Linked DNA regions of Homo sapiens: region 2 is linked to region 1. Evidence: promoter capture Hi-C in 16 types of primary human blood cells and fetal thymus (Javierre and others, 2016). All regions are on one chromosome and are shown on one strand. Each heading gives the region's core, a stretch centred on a gene start or on the middle of the fragment in contact. The rest is flanking DNA. Distances are from core to core; before and after follow the strand shown.

The links. Contacts are between HindIII fragments. The CHiCAGO score rates a contact against its expected background, and 5 or more counts as called.
Region 2: a contact is called between a fragment that was not itself captured here and the fragment with the promoter of NDP-AS1 in region 1, in 4 of 17 cell types (total B cells, total CD8 T cells, fetal thymus and 1 more). The highest score is 9.0, in total B cells.

Annotation. Positions count from the first base shown.
Region 1 is chrX:43,947,788-43,954,324 of GRCh38, reverse strand. It overlaps NDP-AS1 (NDP antisense RNA 1), which reads right to left and starts at 4,593. Exons shown (of 6, transcript NR_046631.1): 1 at 4,245-4,593; 2 at 923-1,006. NDP (norrin cystine knot growth factor NDP) reads left to right here. Exons shown (of 3, transcript NM_000266.4): 3 at 4,299-5,549. The coding sequence ends at 4,526. RefSeq lists enhancers at 3,882-4,398, 4,399-4,916. The HindIII fragment of the contact is 3,781 bases long and covers 4,078-6,537 here.
Region 2 is chrX:46,403,786-46,410,055 of GRCh38, reverse strand. No RefSeq gene overlaps it. Among named protein-coding and RNA genes, the nearest start is that of KRABD4, 40 kb to the left of the region's middle. The HindIII fragment of the contact is 3,732 bases long and covers 1,085-4,816 here.

The sequences.
Region 1 (6,537 bases), core at 3,344-5,843:
ACCATCTCTCTGCTGCTTTGTTCCCTGGTTGCAATTTTCTTGGTGCCCTCAGCCTAGCACAGATCTTTTGGAGGTTGACCTGGGTCCCTGAAGATGAGCGGAGTTATGAGGCTGCCCGTGGGGAAAGAATGGGAGAAGAAGCATGGGTGAATCTTGTTCCTGAGGTTATAGAGGGTGTTTCAAGAGGTGCCATGGAAATAAGGGTGCATAGTGTTCACTGCTGCGAAAAAGGCAAAATACTTTTCCACTCTGTCGGAGTAAAATCGCAAAAATGCTCTTCTAGGGTGGGACAGGTGGGTCTTTATTCTGATGCTAATGGTGACATCTGGTCAGTCAAGGCTCTTGGAAGATTCAGCTCTGCATAAGCTTGGGGATGGTGAAGCTAATGTCCCAAGAAGCCCACAAGAAAAAGTTAGACTTGTATGTCTATGGATATGGTCAGGGGTTTCTGAGGCAAATCAATGTAGATAAGGAAGTCTGTGAGTTGGCATATGCTTGAGGAAAACATGGTATCAGGAGGCAGGTATTATACTGGTTTAGGTCAGGGCTTTGGTTTCAGATAGACCTTGGTTTGATTCCAGCTCTGCATTTTACCACCTATGTGAGTTTGGGCAAGTTACTGGAACTCTCTAAAGCTTGAGTTTCCTTATCTGTCCTAATAGTGTAGATCATAACAGTACTTTCTTGTAGGGTTGTTGTAAGGATGAAATAACTCACATTGCAAGTGCTCAATAAATGTTCTTATTAGCGAAATGATGGTTATCTAGTGATTCATCTAGAGCACAGCCCTCAAACTTGAATGGGTCCAGAGACCTGCTACTCAAAGTGTGGGCACCAGCCCAGTAGGACTGACATCAACTGGAATCTGATGGGAAATGCAGAATCTCAGGCTCTAGGCCAGAACTACTCAATCAGAACTTGCCTTTTAACAAGATCCTAGATGATTCACACGCACATTCCAGTCTGAGAAGCTCTGATCCGGAAGAGATCAGGAGATGTTCAAGTGCTGAAACACAAGTAAGGCATGGCAGAAGCTAAAATGTGAAGTATTGAGAGTAAACCAGGAGAGCAGATGGTTATTCCTTCCATCCCTTAAGGATCTTATCTTTCAAACTTCTGCTTTACCACTTCAACACACAAAACAGAGATAGATTTCCTTCTAGGAGTGTGTGTGTGTGTGTGTGTGTGTGTGTGTGTTGAGAACATCAATGGTTCAATAATTGCTTCATAGTCTTTTCTTCCAGGAAAGAGCATTTGAATTTGGCTACAGAGAATAGATAGGTGGGATTTTATTAGGCAGAGCAAGGTGGAAAGGACATATTTGGGAGACAGAAGACATAAGCAAAGGCAAGAGGCAGGAGAATTCAGGGCACTTTCTTGGACTCCTAAGTAGTTAAGTTTGACTGGAGTAGGGAGTGGGTAGTAGAGTGATGAGAATAGTTGTAAGTAAGACTGGAAATACATGTGAAACCTGGGTCATGAAGGGCCTTGACTCCTCTTCAAGATTTTGGATTTTATTCTGAACTACTGAAGGCATTTATTGTACATGTCTGTGCATTCTTCTTGCACAAACAGTCCAGCTCCCAAGGAAGAGGGGCCCAGCCCATTGGAGGTGGCCCCACGTCCTTCAGTGCCTGGAGTTCTTGTCCTTCAGAGTGGGCTGGGGGTGGAGCTGGACATCCTGAAAACTTTTAGTGAGATTGCAATCAGATGAGCTCATTTACAAATGGCCCTACGCTGTTGACTTGGTCATTTTATGGACAGTGCTAATGGCCCAGTCAGTTAGGCCTACGTTTGGTTCACCTGTGTATACATCACTTGGATATTATGTCCCATATCATTGTTGGCCCTTCTGAGTTAAGTTCGTTGGCACAGATTTACTTTGTCCACCCAGACTGAAACTGCACCTCTGAAGACTCCATCACGGAAGGTGACTCTGTGAATAACTGCTTAGTCAACCTAATAGATGATCTAGATGAGAGATTAGCAAATTTAACACTACTCCAAGGTGAGGTATCAAGCAGCTCTTCCCACATACAGGGAGATGGGGGGAGAACAGACTAAGGAAGATCTTGGACTCTCTCTCTCATTAGAGAAATGGGGGTGGGAATTAGGGACTAGCCTGTGTACTACTGACCTATGGCATAGTCTCTCAAAACCCATTTCAGAGCCAGGCACAGTGGTACATGCCTGTAGTCCTGGCTACACAGGAGGCTGAGGCAGGAGGATCCCTTGAGCTCAGGAGTTTAAGGCTGTAGTGTGCTATGATCATGCCTGTGAATAACCACTGCACTGCAGCCTGGACAACATAGCAAGACTCTGTCTCTAAAAACAAAACAAAACAAACAAACAATCATTTCTGATAGTTTACTTTGCCTGTCAAAATGAAGAGCAGGTAGGATAGAATCAAAAGCTTTAAAAAAATCAAAACAGCTTACAGCTGCTATTTTCTCTCTGCCTCTGCGATCATTCAGAGAAAATAAATTCACTGGTCTAGTCCAACTTATTCTTCCCTAAGCCCTGCTGTTTTTTTTTTCTAGTATTTCATATTGCCTTGGTGGTTGCTAAGTGATTGTTGGATTTAGCCCCAGTATATTCTCAGATAACTATGCCAATAATCTATAATTACCAGAATTCATCTTTTCTCCCTTTTGGAAAGATGGACTGGCTATTTTTTTCTTGTAAACCTTGGGTGTTTAATTCTGCCCTACAGGATGATGTCAGAGATAATAGCTGGTGAGTCTTTAATAATAACTGCGAATTCCTACAATATTGTAAGGTAAACGTCAAAAGGTTTCATGCATATATATGTATCTTTTAATCTTTCATTTGAACAGTTTCACTTTTTATGATCTTGCTGTTGGTTCTGGAATTATAGGACAAATTTTTCTTTTCTTTTCTTTTCTTTTTGAGACAGGGCCTTGCTCTGTCACTCATGCTGGAGTACAGTGGCTTGATCATAGCTTCCTGCAGCCTCTAATTCCTGGGTTCAAGTGATCCTCCTGCCTCAGCTGCCAAAGTAGCTGGGACTACAGGTGCACATCACCACGCCTGGTTAACTTTTTATTTTTTTTTTTAGAGACACGGTCATGCTATGTTGCCCAGGCTGGTCTCAAACTCCTGGGGTCAAGTGATCCTCCTGCCTCAGACTCCAAAGTGTTGGGATTATAGGCATGAGACAATACACCTGGCCCAGGGGATTTTTTTCTCCATCACTTAACATGAAATTCACCAAGCAAAACCTCTTACATAACCATGGGACCAATAATCTCAGATTCTCCATTCCCCTCCCCACCTTGATATTAGGATTATGCAGCTTAATGAGTCAAGCTGTCCCACCCTACCCACCTATTACTCCCACTCCCAGGATACCAGGAGTTTTGTATGGGATACATAAATGATCCTTTTTTCCATTCCGTTAAGCTGTATGCAAATTGTGTGTGTGCTTATGTACATTTTTCTGGGGATAACTTTGGTAGTTTTCATCAGATTCTTAAAGGTGTCTGTTTGCTAAAGCCAGATTAAGAGCTACTATAAAGAACACATAGCCTCCGTTATTCCAGCCCAATCTTTGGAAATAGAGATTATCAGAATGGGTACATCCTAATATTTGCCGCAAATGACTCTGAAGATGCGGATGCAATTACATAAATCCCAGGCTCCTTCAACATATAAACCCAGAAGTGTGATTTCAGGGCCCCAGACATGCCCTGTCTCTACTTCATTCTCTTGTCCCAAATTGCAGCACCCAGAATATTTCTTCCTAAGCATTACTCAGGCTATCCTATTTTCTTATTCAGAAACTATATTCCTGTTCTTTAGCTATTTCCTGCACAAATCAATTTCTTTTTTTTTTTTTTTTTTTTGGTAGTCATTTTAATTTACTTCTTGGTTTCAATTTGGATTGACTTTCTGCATTTTGCTACTGGTAGAATTGCAATGCATTGGGCCAGTGGTAGACCACTACCTGTCAGGAGAAATTTCTTTTGTTCTTTGGTTTTTACTCGCACATCACAGTGATGGGCGTCATTCAGTGGTTCTAAACCCTCAGTACACTTAGAAATCACCTAAGAAGCTTTGAAAACCATGAAAGCCTGGTCCCTATCTCCAAGGATTTTAATTCAATCGATCTGAATGAGGCCTGGGTGTTGACTTAAAAAAAATGCAACATGCATTGAGCCACTGGTCTAATCTAGCAGGAATTGGCAACGAGTGTGAGGGTCTTTCAAAAGATGCTGTTTTACCTGGCTAAGGTTGTGGCATGCCCACAGAGTAACCACCTCCTTTTCTTTCCCCAGATGGTGCTCCTGGCCAGGTGCGAGGGGCACTGCAGCCAGGCGTCACGCTCCGAGCCTTTGGTGTCGTTCAGCACTGTCCTCAAGCAACCCTTCCGTTCCTCCTGTCACTGCTGCCGGCCCCAGACTTCCAAGCTGAAGGCACTGCGGCTGCGATGCTCAGGGGGCATGCGACTCACTGCCACCTACCGGTACATCCTCTCCTGTCACTGCGAGGAATGCAATTCCTGAGGCCCGCTGCTGTGTGTGGCTTCTGGATGGGACAACTGTAGAGGCAGTTCGACCAGCCAGGGAAAGACTGGCAAGAAAAGAGTTAAGGCAAAAAAGGATGCAACAATTCTCCCGGGACTCTGCATATTCTAGTAATAAAGACTCTACATGCTTGTTGACAGAGAGAGATACTCTGGGAACTTCTTTGCAGTTCCCATCTCCTTTCTCTGGTACAATTTCTTTTGGTTCATTTTCAGATTCAGGCATTTTCCCCCTTGGCTCTCAATGCTGTTTGGGTTTCCAACAATTCAGCATTAGTGGGAAAAAGTGGGCCCTCATACACAAGCGTGTCAGGCTGTCAGTGTTTGGTGCACGCTGGGGAAGAATTTACTTTGGAAAGTAGAAAAGCCCAGCTTTTCCTGGGACATCTTCTGTTATTGTTGATGTTTTTTTTTACCTTGTCATTTTGGTCTAAGGTTGCCATTGCTGCTAAAGGTTACCGATTTCAAAGTCCAGATACCAAGCATGTGGATATGTTTAGCTACGTTTACTCACAGCCAGCGAACTGACATTAAAATAACTAACAAACAGATTCTTTTATGTGATGCTGGAACTCTTGACAGCTATAATTATTATTCAGAAATGACTTTTTGAAAGTAAAAGCAGCATAAAGAATTTGTCACAGGAAGGCTGTCTCAGATAAATTATGGTAAAATTTTGTAAGGGAGCAGACTTTTAAAGACTTGCACAAATACGGATCCTGCACTGACTCTGGAAAAGGCATATATGTACTAGTGGCATGGAGAATGCACCATACTCATGCATGCAAATTAGACAACCAAGTATGAATCTATTTGTGGGTGTGCTATAGCTTTAGCCGTGTCACGGGCATCATTCTCTAATATCCACTTGTCCATGTGAAACATGTTGCCAAAATGGTGGCCTGGCTTGTCTTCTGAACGTTTGGTTCAAATGTGTTTTGGTCCTGGAGGCTCAAATTTTGAGTTATTCCCACGTTTTGAAATAAAAAGAGTATATTCAAAATTTTGACTGTTTAAGTATTTTTTTCCTACTTGATATCCTACTATCATGTGGACTAGAACATACATGTAGCTAGTGCTTGAGCATCTCCTATGATATAGTAAAAGAGTCAAAAAAAAAAAAAAGGAGACAGAAATGGGGTTCCAGAATGCATTGTGGGAACATTTTTTTGAAATCAATGTAACAAGGTGTTGAGGGCTTATTAAATTTGACTCTGAGTTTTAGATTTTAGCCCATTGAATAAACACAAAATCTAATGCATTTTGGCTTCCTTGGAAGCTATGGAATGAAACAGAGGAGTCCCCTCCTTTTTAATTTCTTCACTTTTCTCAGAAGAAAATAAATATCCATAAGTGAAGTTGGAAGAACCAGCAGAAGGACAAATAGTTAACAACATTTCTGTGCCATTGACTGTGCAGTGCTCAGGATCGAATGATATTACTGGGCATTACAAGAATACTCATGATGTTAGCACAGTGCTATGTCCCTCTTAGGTATCTCAATACAAATCCAGACTTGGCAATTCAGTTTCCAGGGCAACCTTGTCCTGGTTAACTAGAGATGATATTAACTCCCCCACTGTTAGTACAGCCAACCTGTGAATTACTTTTCCAGTAGAGATAATGGTTTTGAACACTCTTTGGCACAGCTTTCACACATTCTTAAGAAAGCCAGCAGGGTTATACTTGTATTCATGGCTTTGAAACAGAATGAAACTAATGCTATTAAATCTTGACCTTGATCTTAATCTCTGTGGTGACACAGCCAGCCAGTCTCCTAAATTGGAGGTTCTCCTCATTCTGAAGGCAAATGCGAAATGGCAGTTTGGACCATTACATGAAGAATTTTGTCATAAATGGAATTAAATTTAATACTGAAAGTTAAATGGTTATAATTTTTAACTGATAATGAAAGTATTAACTGTTGGTCACATTTATGACTGTTCTTTCATGTTGCTAATCAAAAAGTGAAAAATAATACTTCCAGCCTT
Region 2 (6,270 bases), core at 1,701-4,200, 2.5 Mb before region 1:
TTGTGGGGTGGGGGGAGGGGGGAGGGAGATAGCATTGGGAGATATACCTAATGCTAAATGACGAGTTAATGGGTGCAGCACACCAACATGGCACATGTATACATATGTTACAAACCTGCACATTGTGCACATGTATCCTAAAACTTAAAGTATAATAATAATTTTAAAAATATATATATATTATATATATATATATAATGTAAGAGAAGGCAAAATTAGAAAGACTACATGCGATTCTTGCTTCTGAATAGTTTATGTGCAAATATGTAAATAATAAAGGCTTCCTGGTCATTCTCTCTCTTTCTCTCTTTCTATTTGTGTCCCTGTTTTTTTTTTTTTTCCTCCAAGTGGAAGATGCTGAAATCATTGGCTTGACAAAGTTTTCTGAGTGGAGTCTGGGAACTCCTTGCAGAAAACATTAATTTCTGGGTAGAAATTTCTTATAGTAGAAGGAATTTGTGGTGTGAAGAGAATAAAGTAAATGTTCCAGAAAAGGCAAATAAATATGGGGGAAGAATTTGATTGAGTAGTTGTTAGCCTATGTGTAGAGAAGAACAAATGTATTTGCTTGGCTAAGATTATTACATGACAGATTTTTAAGGAGTGTGTGTAGGGTGGAGAGGATAGTTGAAAAAGACCTGAAAATTACCAATTTGAAATTTGGTTGAAATTCTTCACAATTGTCACAGCGCATGGATAAGACTTTAGTTGAAATAGCTTCCAGAATTGGTTTACTGAATTCCTGGAAATGAACTGTTTTAAGAGTTTGTACATTTCAGAAATTCATGGAGTTCAGAATGCCAAGACAAAGGCCTTCAATTTAACAAGGAGAAACCAGAGTTTACCACTGGGATCTCCTAGGCCGTTCCGGAGAAATTTTTTAATTTTTCAGTTTTTATCATAGAATTTCCCTGGAGACATGGAAAAGGAGAAAACTCTTACACAAGACTGTAGTCTTTTCCACCAAAAGTCTTAATTTTACACTTCTACGTGGTTGGTGTATGAAATGCACTTTCATGTGACTGCTGAAAGCAAAAGATGACTGTGGCCACATGGGGGCAGCAGACACCTGCTTTTCCAAGCTTGAGCTCCAGAAATTTGTGCTAAAAGATTTTCCACGTTTATTCTTTAGTCTAAATGTCTCTTCCATATTGCCGAACTGGGGGAAATGAATATCTTTAAAATACTAACAAAGAAATCTCACGTGCTAATCAGAAGTTGGCAAGGGCTTGCTCTTTTTGTGTTTCTAATGGCTAGTTTCTCACAGGTCATTTCTTAGCTATCAGGATATCCTCTGACAATCATAGGGCCTGGCATCTAATGATAGCTTAGTAAACGTTGGTTATCCTTAGTGTTTTTTGGAAGATAACTGCTCCAACTTACCAAAACACATTCTCTAAGATCTCAGACCACGGTATCCAGGGAAGGCTGTATCTCTTTAGCTAAGAGTGTTCACATTGTCTAGCAGTCCTACACATTTTCTGCAGTTCTACAGTCATGAATTTAGAGACAAGCACCTTGTCAAATCAGTGATTCTGAGAAAAGCATATCCGACACAGTCACTTTCTCTTTACCTGTGTGGTGCTGCAGCAGAAACTGCAAATGGAATTTTGAGGATGGAAGGTGAGCACAGGTGTGGCAAGATTGCGATCCTGGGTATACCACTCCATCCCTCCTCCCTCTTCCCCTAACAGCCTAATCAGCCCTAATCAGGGCCTCATGGATGAGGTGAGGCACTTAGGCTGGCACCACCAGCTGCCTGGCTCTTTAGGCCTCTCACTGATGCCCCCTGCCTATTCATTTCAACATTTGTTGAATGCCCACTCTTTCTTAAGCAATCCTCATACATCATCTCATTTACCATTTCTCTATGTAGGAAAGCTATTTCATGCCTATGTTTGCAGATGCTCGTCCTTCTGCCTGGAATACCCTTTCCTTCTTCTCAGTCTAATTCCTATATGTCTTTCCAATCCAGCTCATGACATGCTCTTCTAGAAACCCCACAACAGTTTAGATATAGCCAAAATGGGCTCTTGTAAGCACATGGTCTTATCCTCAGCACATTGTTAGGATCACAGGCTTGGTCATCTTCCTCTCCCATGAAACCACAAGCTCCCTGTGCTCAGAGCCCTGCCTCATTCGGCCTTGAATCCGTAGAGGCCAGCAGAGTTTCTGGCACATTGGAGCTGCTCCAGAAAAGTTTGTGGAGTGAGCAAATGAATCAATTCATTTATCCCTGAATGAGATGTTTCCTTTCCCTTCCTTTCCCCAGTTAAAATGCTTTGATTTTTTTTTAATCTCTCTTAAGAAATTATTTTAAAAATAAGCAGTCAGCTTCTACCTCCTACACAAGGAACATCAGAGAATACCAATGAACCATCATTTACAAGTGGGACTTGCTGAAGAAGGAAGTGTGTAGTATGAACCTCTGTGGATATCCCAGGCACTGTGGGGTCCCATGGGGATATGCACCAAGCTCCATGCGTGCGGCTCTGAAAGATGCCTTCACATCAGCAGCAGCTGTTAGTGGCATTAAGATGTGAATGGCTTCCAGAAGCCTCTCAGTGTTCTAAGGATACTATTCGTCAATTCTCACAGAATCCTTCAATGATAAGCAAGAGAAATGGAGAAAGTTTTTCCTGCCTTCTTCTCTCCGCTGTCTCTCTTTCTCCTTACAGTTGGAGAGTTAGAATTCAGAGAAAGATTAAGCAAATCGCCTAGCATCACTTAAAAGAGAACAGTCAAGCCAGAACTCAGTCTGGTGCTCATTCCACAAAGCTGTGCTTCCTGTAACTTAAACAGGTCTGTGTTTTAATGAATTTGTGGCATATGGGCCATAATAATCAAAGCGCCTGGCATTTCCTGGAATTTATGATCTTGTGGGGAATAGGTCATTTTCTACTTTTGAATGAATTTTCACATGCTTAGCTTTGGAGTTGAGAAACCTGACAGAAGTGAACATGGTTTCTGGAATAAGTAATGCTTTTTTTTGTTTGTTTGTTTGTCCTGCTATCTGTACCCATATCTTCTTTTTGTCCTCTCAAACCTCATCCCTACCCATGAACTATTGTCCCAACTTCTCTAGCATTTTAAGAGTCAGTGGCAAGATAGTGTTCTTTTTTTTTTTTGACGGAGTCTCGCTCTGTCACCAGACTGGAGTACAATGGTGCGATCTTGGCTCACTGCAACCTCTGCCTCCCGGGTTCAAGCGATTCTCTTGCCTCAGCCTCCTGAGTAGCTGGGACTACAGGCGCACGCCACTATGCCCAGCTAATTTTTGTATTTTTTAAGTAGAGATGTGGTTTCACCATGTTGGCCGAGATGGTCTCGATCTCCTGACCTCGTGATCCACCCATCTCGGCCTCCCAAAGTGCTGAGATTACAGGCATGAGCCACCACCCAGCCAAGAGTCAGTAGCAAGATAGTGCTCTCAAAGTCTGTGTTGTGGGAGAAGAAAATTATTTTGATTGCTGTCTTCTCTGTGAAATTCCAGTGAAGTTCATAGCCCTTCATCGTCCACCATCCCTGGTGACCTGCAGTTGTTGGAAAAACAGTTGTCTTTATAGGCAAAGAACTCTCCTCCTGACCTGGATTTGTGTTTCTGATTTCTAAAAAACCTTGTTGATCCAGGTAGCAGTGAAAGTCTGTGAATTCAGATATGGCCTGACCAATGCACTCTTTTTTTTTTTTTTTTTTTTTTTTTTGAGACAGGCTGGAGTGCAGTGGCGCGATCTCCGCTAACTGCAACCTCCACCTCCCGGGTTCAAATGATTCTCCTGCCTCAGCCTCCCGAGTAGCTGGGATTACAGGTGCGCACACCAAGCCCAGCTAATTTTTGTATTTTTAGTAGAGATGGGGTTTCACCATGTTGGCCAGGATGGTCTCAAACTCCTGACCTCAAGTGATCCACCCGCCTTGGCCTCTCACAGTGCTGGGATTACTGGTGTGAGCCACAGGGCCTGGCCCAATGTGCTCTGTTTTTGACAGAGTCTTCCAGAATTGCCTTGAGTGTGACAGCAGTAGCTGGTTTCCCAAAGATCTACTTGGTCCCACTTGCTGAGAAAGCTGCCATTGAGTATTTGTTGTGGGCATTTAAATCTCAGTAAAGGTATACCAATTAATGCCAATGAGCTTAAGTAAATATCTATGCCACTGATATTGATGTTTGTGTTTTGTTTCTAAAATGAATTGAAGTTCCCCCAAAGCCTGACCTCTTCTCCAGCAAATCCTTGGTTGCAGTGGATGGCAGTAATTTTTTAAGGGCATTACATTAAGTTTCCAGGAGTGCCTTTTAAAGGAGCTTTTTCCATGCCTTTTTTTTTTCTAATATCTTATATGCTCAGTTCTTACTGGCTTACAAGAACTCTTTAAAAAATGGAGTCCCTGAATATTTCTGTGAAATGCATTCTTTTCTGAGACAGACTGTCATGGGAGCTATTTAGAGCCTACATCACTTAGTTTGAGAGCTGAATGATGCACTTTTCCAAGCATATTCTTAACTCAAACAACAAAAGACTTCAAGTTTGCCGAGTATTTCCAGACCCAGGCAATGTCAGGGAACCATAGATTGTCAGGGTCTTCTATTGCCCTGGCAGCTCTCTAGAAGCAACACTAGAATTTCTAGAAGGGGACCGTAGCATGCTAAAGCCATTGGCATGACCCTGGGTTCACTGGCATCCAGGAAGCTCCTTTTCTCTGTGTTGGAGTTACCCCTGTAATACACCCAGGTTAACATATTTGGAATTCCTAACCCTATATAATGAGGAAACCTCTAAGTTTCAAAGATCCCAGTTCAAATCTAAACACTTAGAAAGCTTGGAAATAAGTTTCTTGGGTTTGGAATTCATTAAAGAAGTGCAAGACTCAGGGTCCATAGGGGGCACACAAAAAGACTCAGTGTCTCTGTCACTGAGACAGAGGCTGGGGGAGAAAAGAGACACACTTTCCCAGAAATTCAATTGGGGCAGGTACAGAGTATCTATGCTGGATCTCATGAGTGCTTGGTGGGACAAGACTGTTCCCATGGTAATTCCCCGAGGTTAACCAGCTGTGACAGGGAAAGCGATAGCCGCACGATTCATGAATGTGTGTAACCGAACTGTCCCTGGCTAGGTTCATGGGTCAAATAGGAGACCAGTGTCTGAGGTCAGGTTTCAGGCTGCTGCATGTGCTGGCCCCTAAGCAGAAGGAAAGGGAATCAGTAAGTGTCACCTTGAATGATACCCCCCTATGCTTGATTCGACACCAGTTAGGAAGGGAATTGGTAGGGGCACATGATGAAAAACTGTTCGGTTTCTTTCCCTTTCTCTCTGCTGTCACATGAGACTAGACCAGGAGAAAACAGAAAGCTCATAATTTTATTTGGCCTTCATTGAGTGTAGGCTGGTATCATTTCATTTATTTGGAACTTATAGGGGTTCTCAGGTTCATAACCTATTTACTGGGTTTATAAATTGATTATTTTAAAATTTGAATGATGGATGGGAACATTCCACGGTTTATTGTGGGAGGGAGAATATAGCCAGAGAAACAATGACCTATGGTGTAAGGCCATAGGTATATCAAAATCAGAATCTGTACCAATTCAAATAACTTCCTCTTGAATCTCAGATTACCTTGGGAAAGTGTATGATTTTTTTGCACTAGCATTTCAAAACATTTAAGCTTCCGTAATGACGGCTTGATTTAATTCCAAATGCATTACCTCCTACAGATACAACATGAGAGCAGAAATTGACTTTGTAAATAGCGTGGATCAAATGAGGCCCACTGACTTGCACAATCCAATAAGTGGCAAAACCAAGACTAGAATATCAGAATGTACAGCTTTGTCTTTTGAGCAAGATTGCCTTTGTTTTTACCAAACAAATTTTGATGCCATACGTTTGTTGAATGAATTCTACTTTAGATTCATTCAGTACAATATTTTGCTCCTTTTCTTACAAAAAGTAGTACAACAAAGAAGTGTTGAAATTCCATTTGCCACTCTGTTATTAAGTGATACATGTTATGTCACATGAAGCACATACAAAATTAAATAAGTCACTTTTGTGTGCTTTTACAGTGTTAGGTTTAGAAATCTTATCTTAGTGGAATAGACTTGTTTAAAAATGTTCTTGAAATTTCATTGTGTAAACCTAGTTTTATTATAAGAAACTACCATTCAAGCCAGTAGTCAAAAAACTTGCTTTCCTATACCTATAAGCACAGGCTTAGAATAAACTGAAACCAGATTGAGGCGGGCTTATCAACTGGATTTCAAGAGGCATT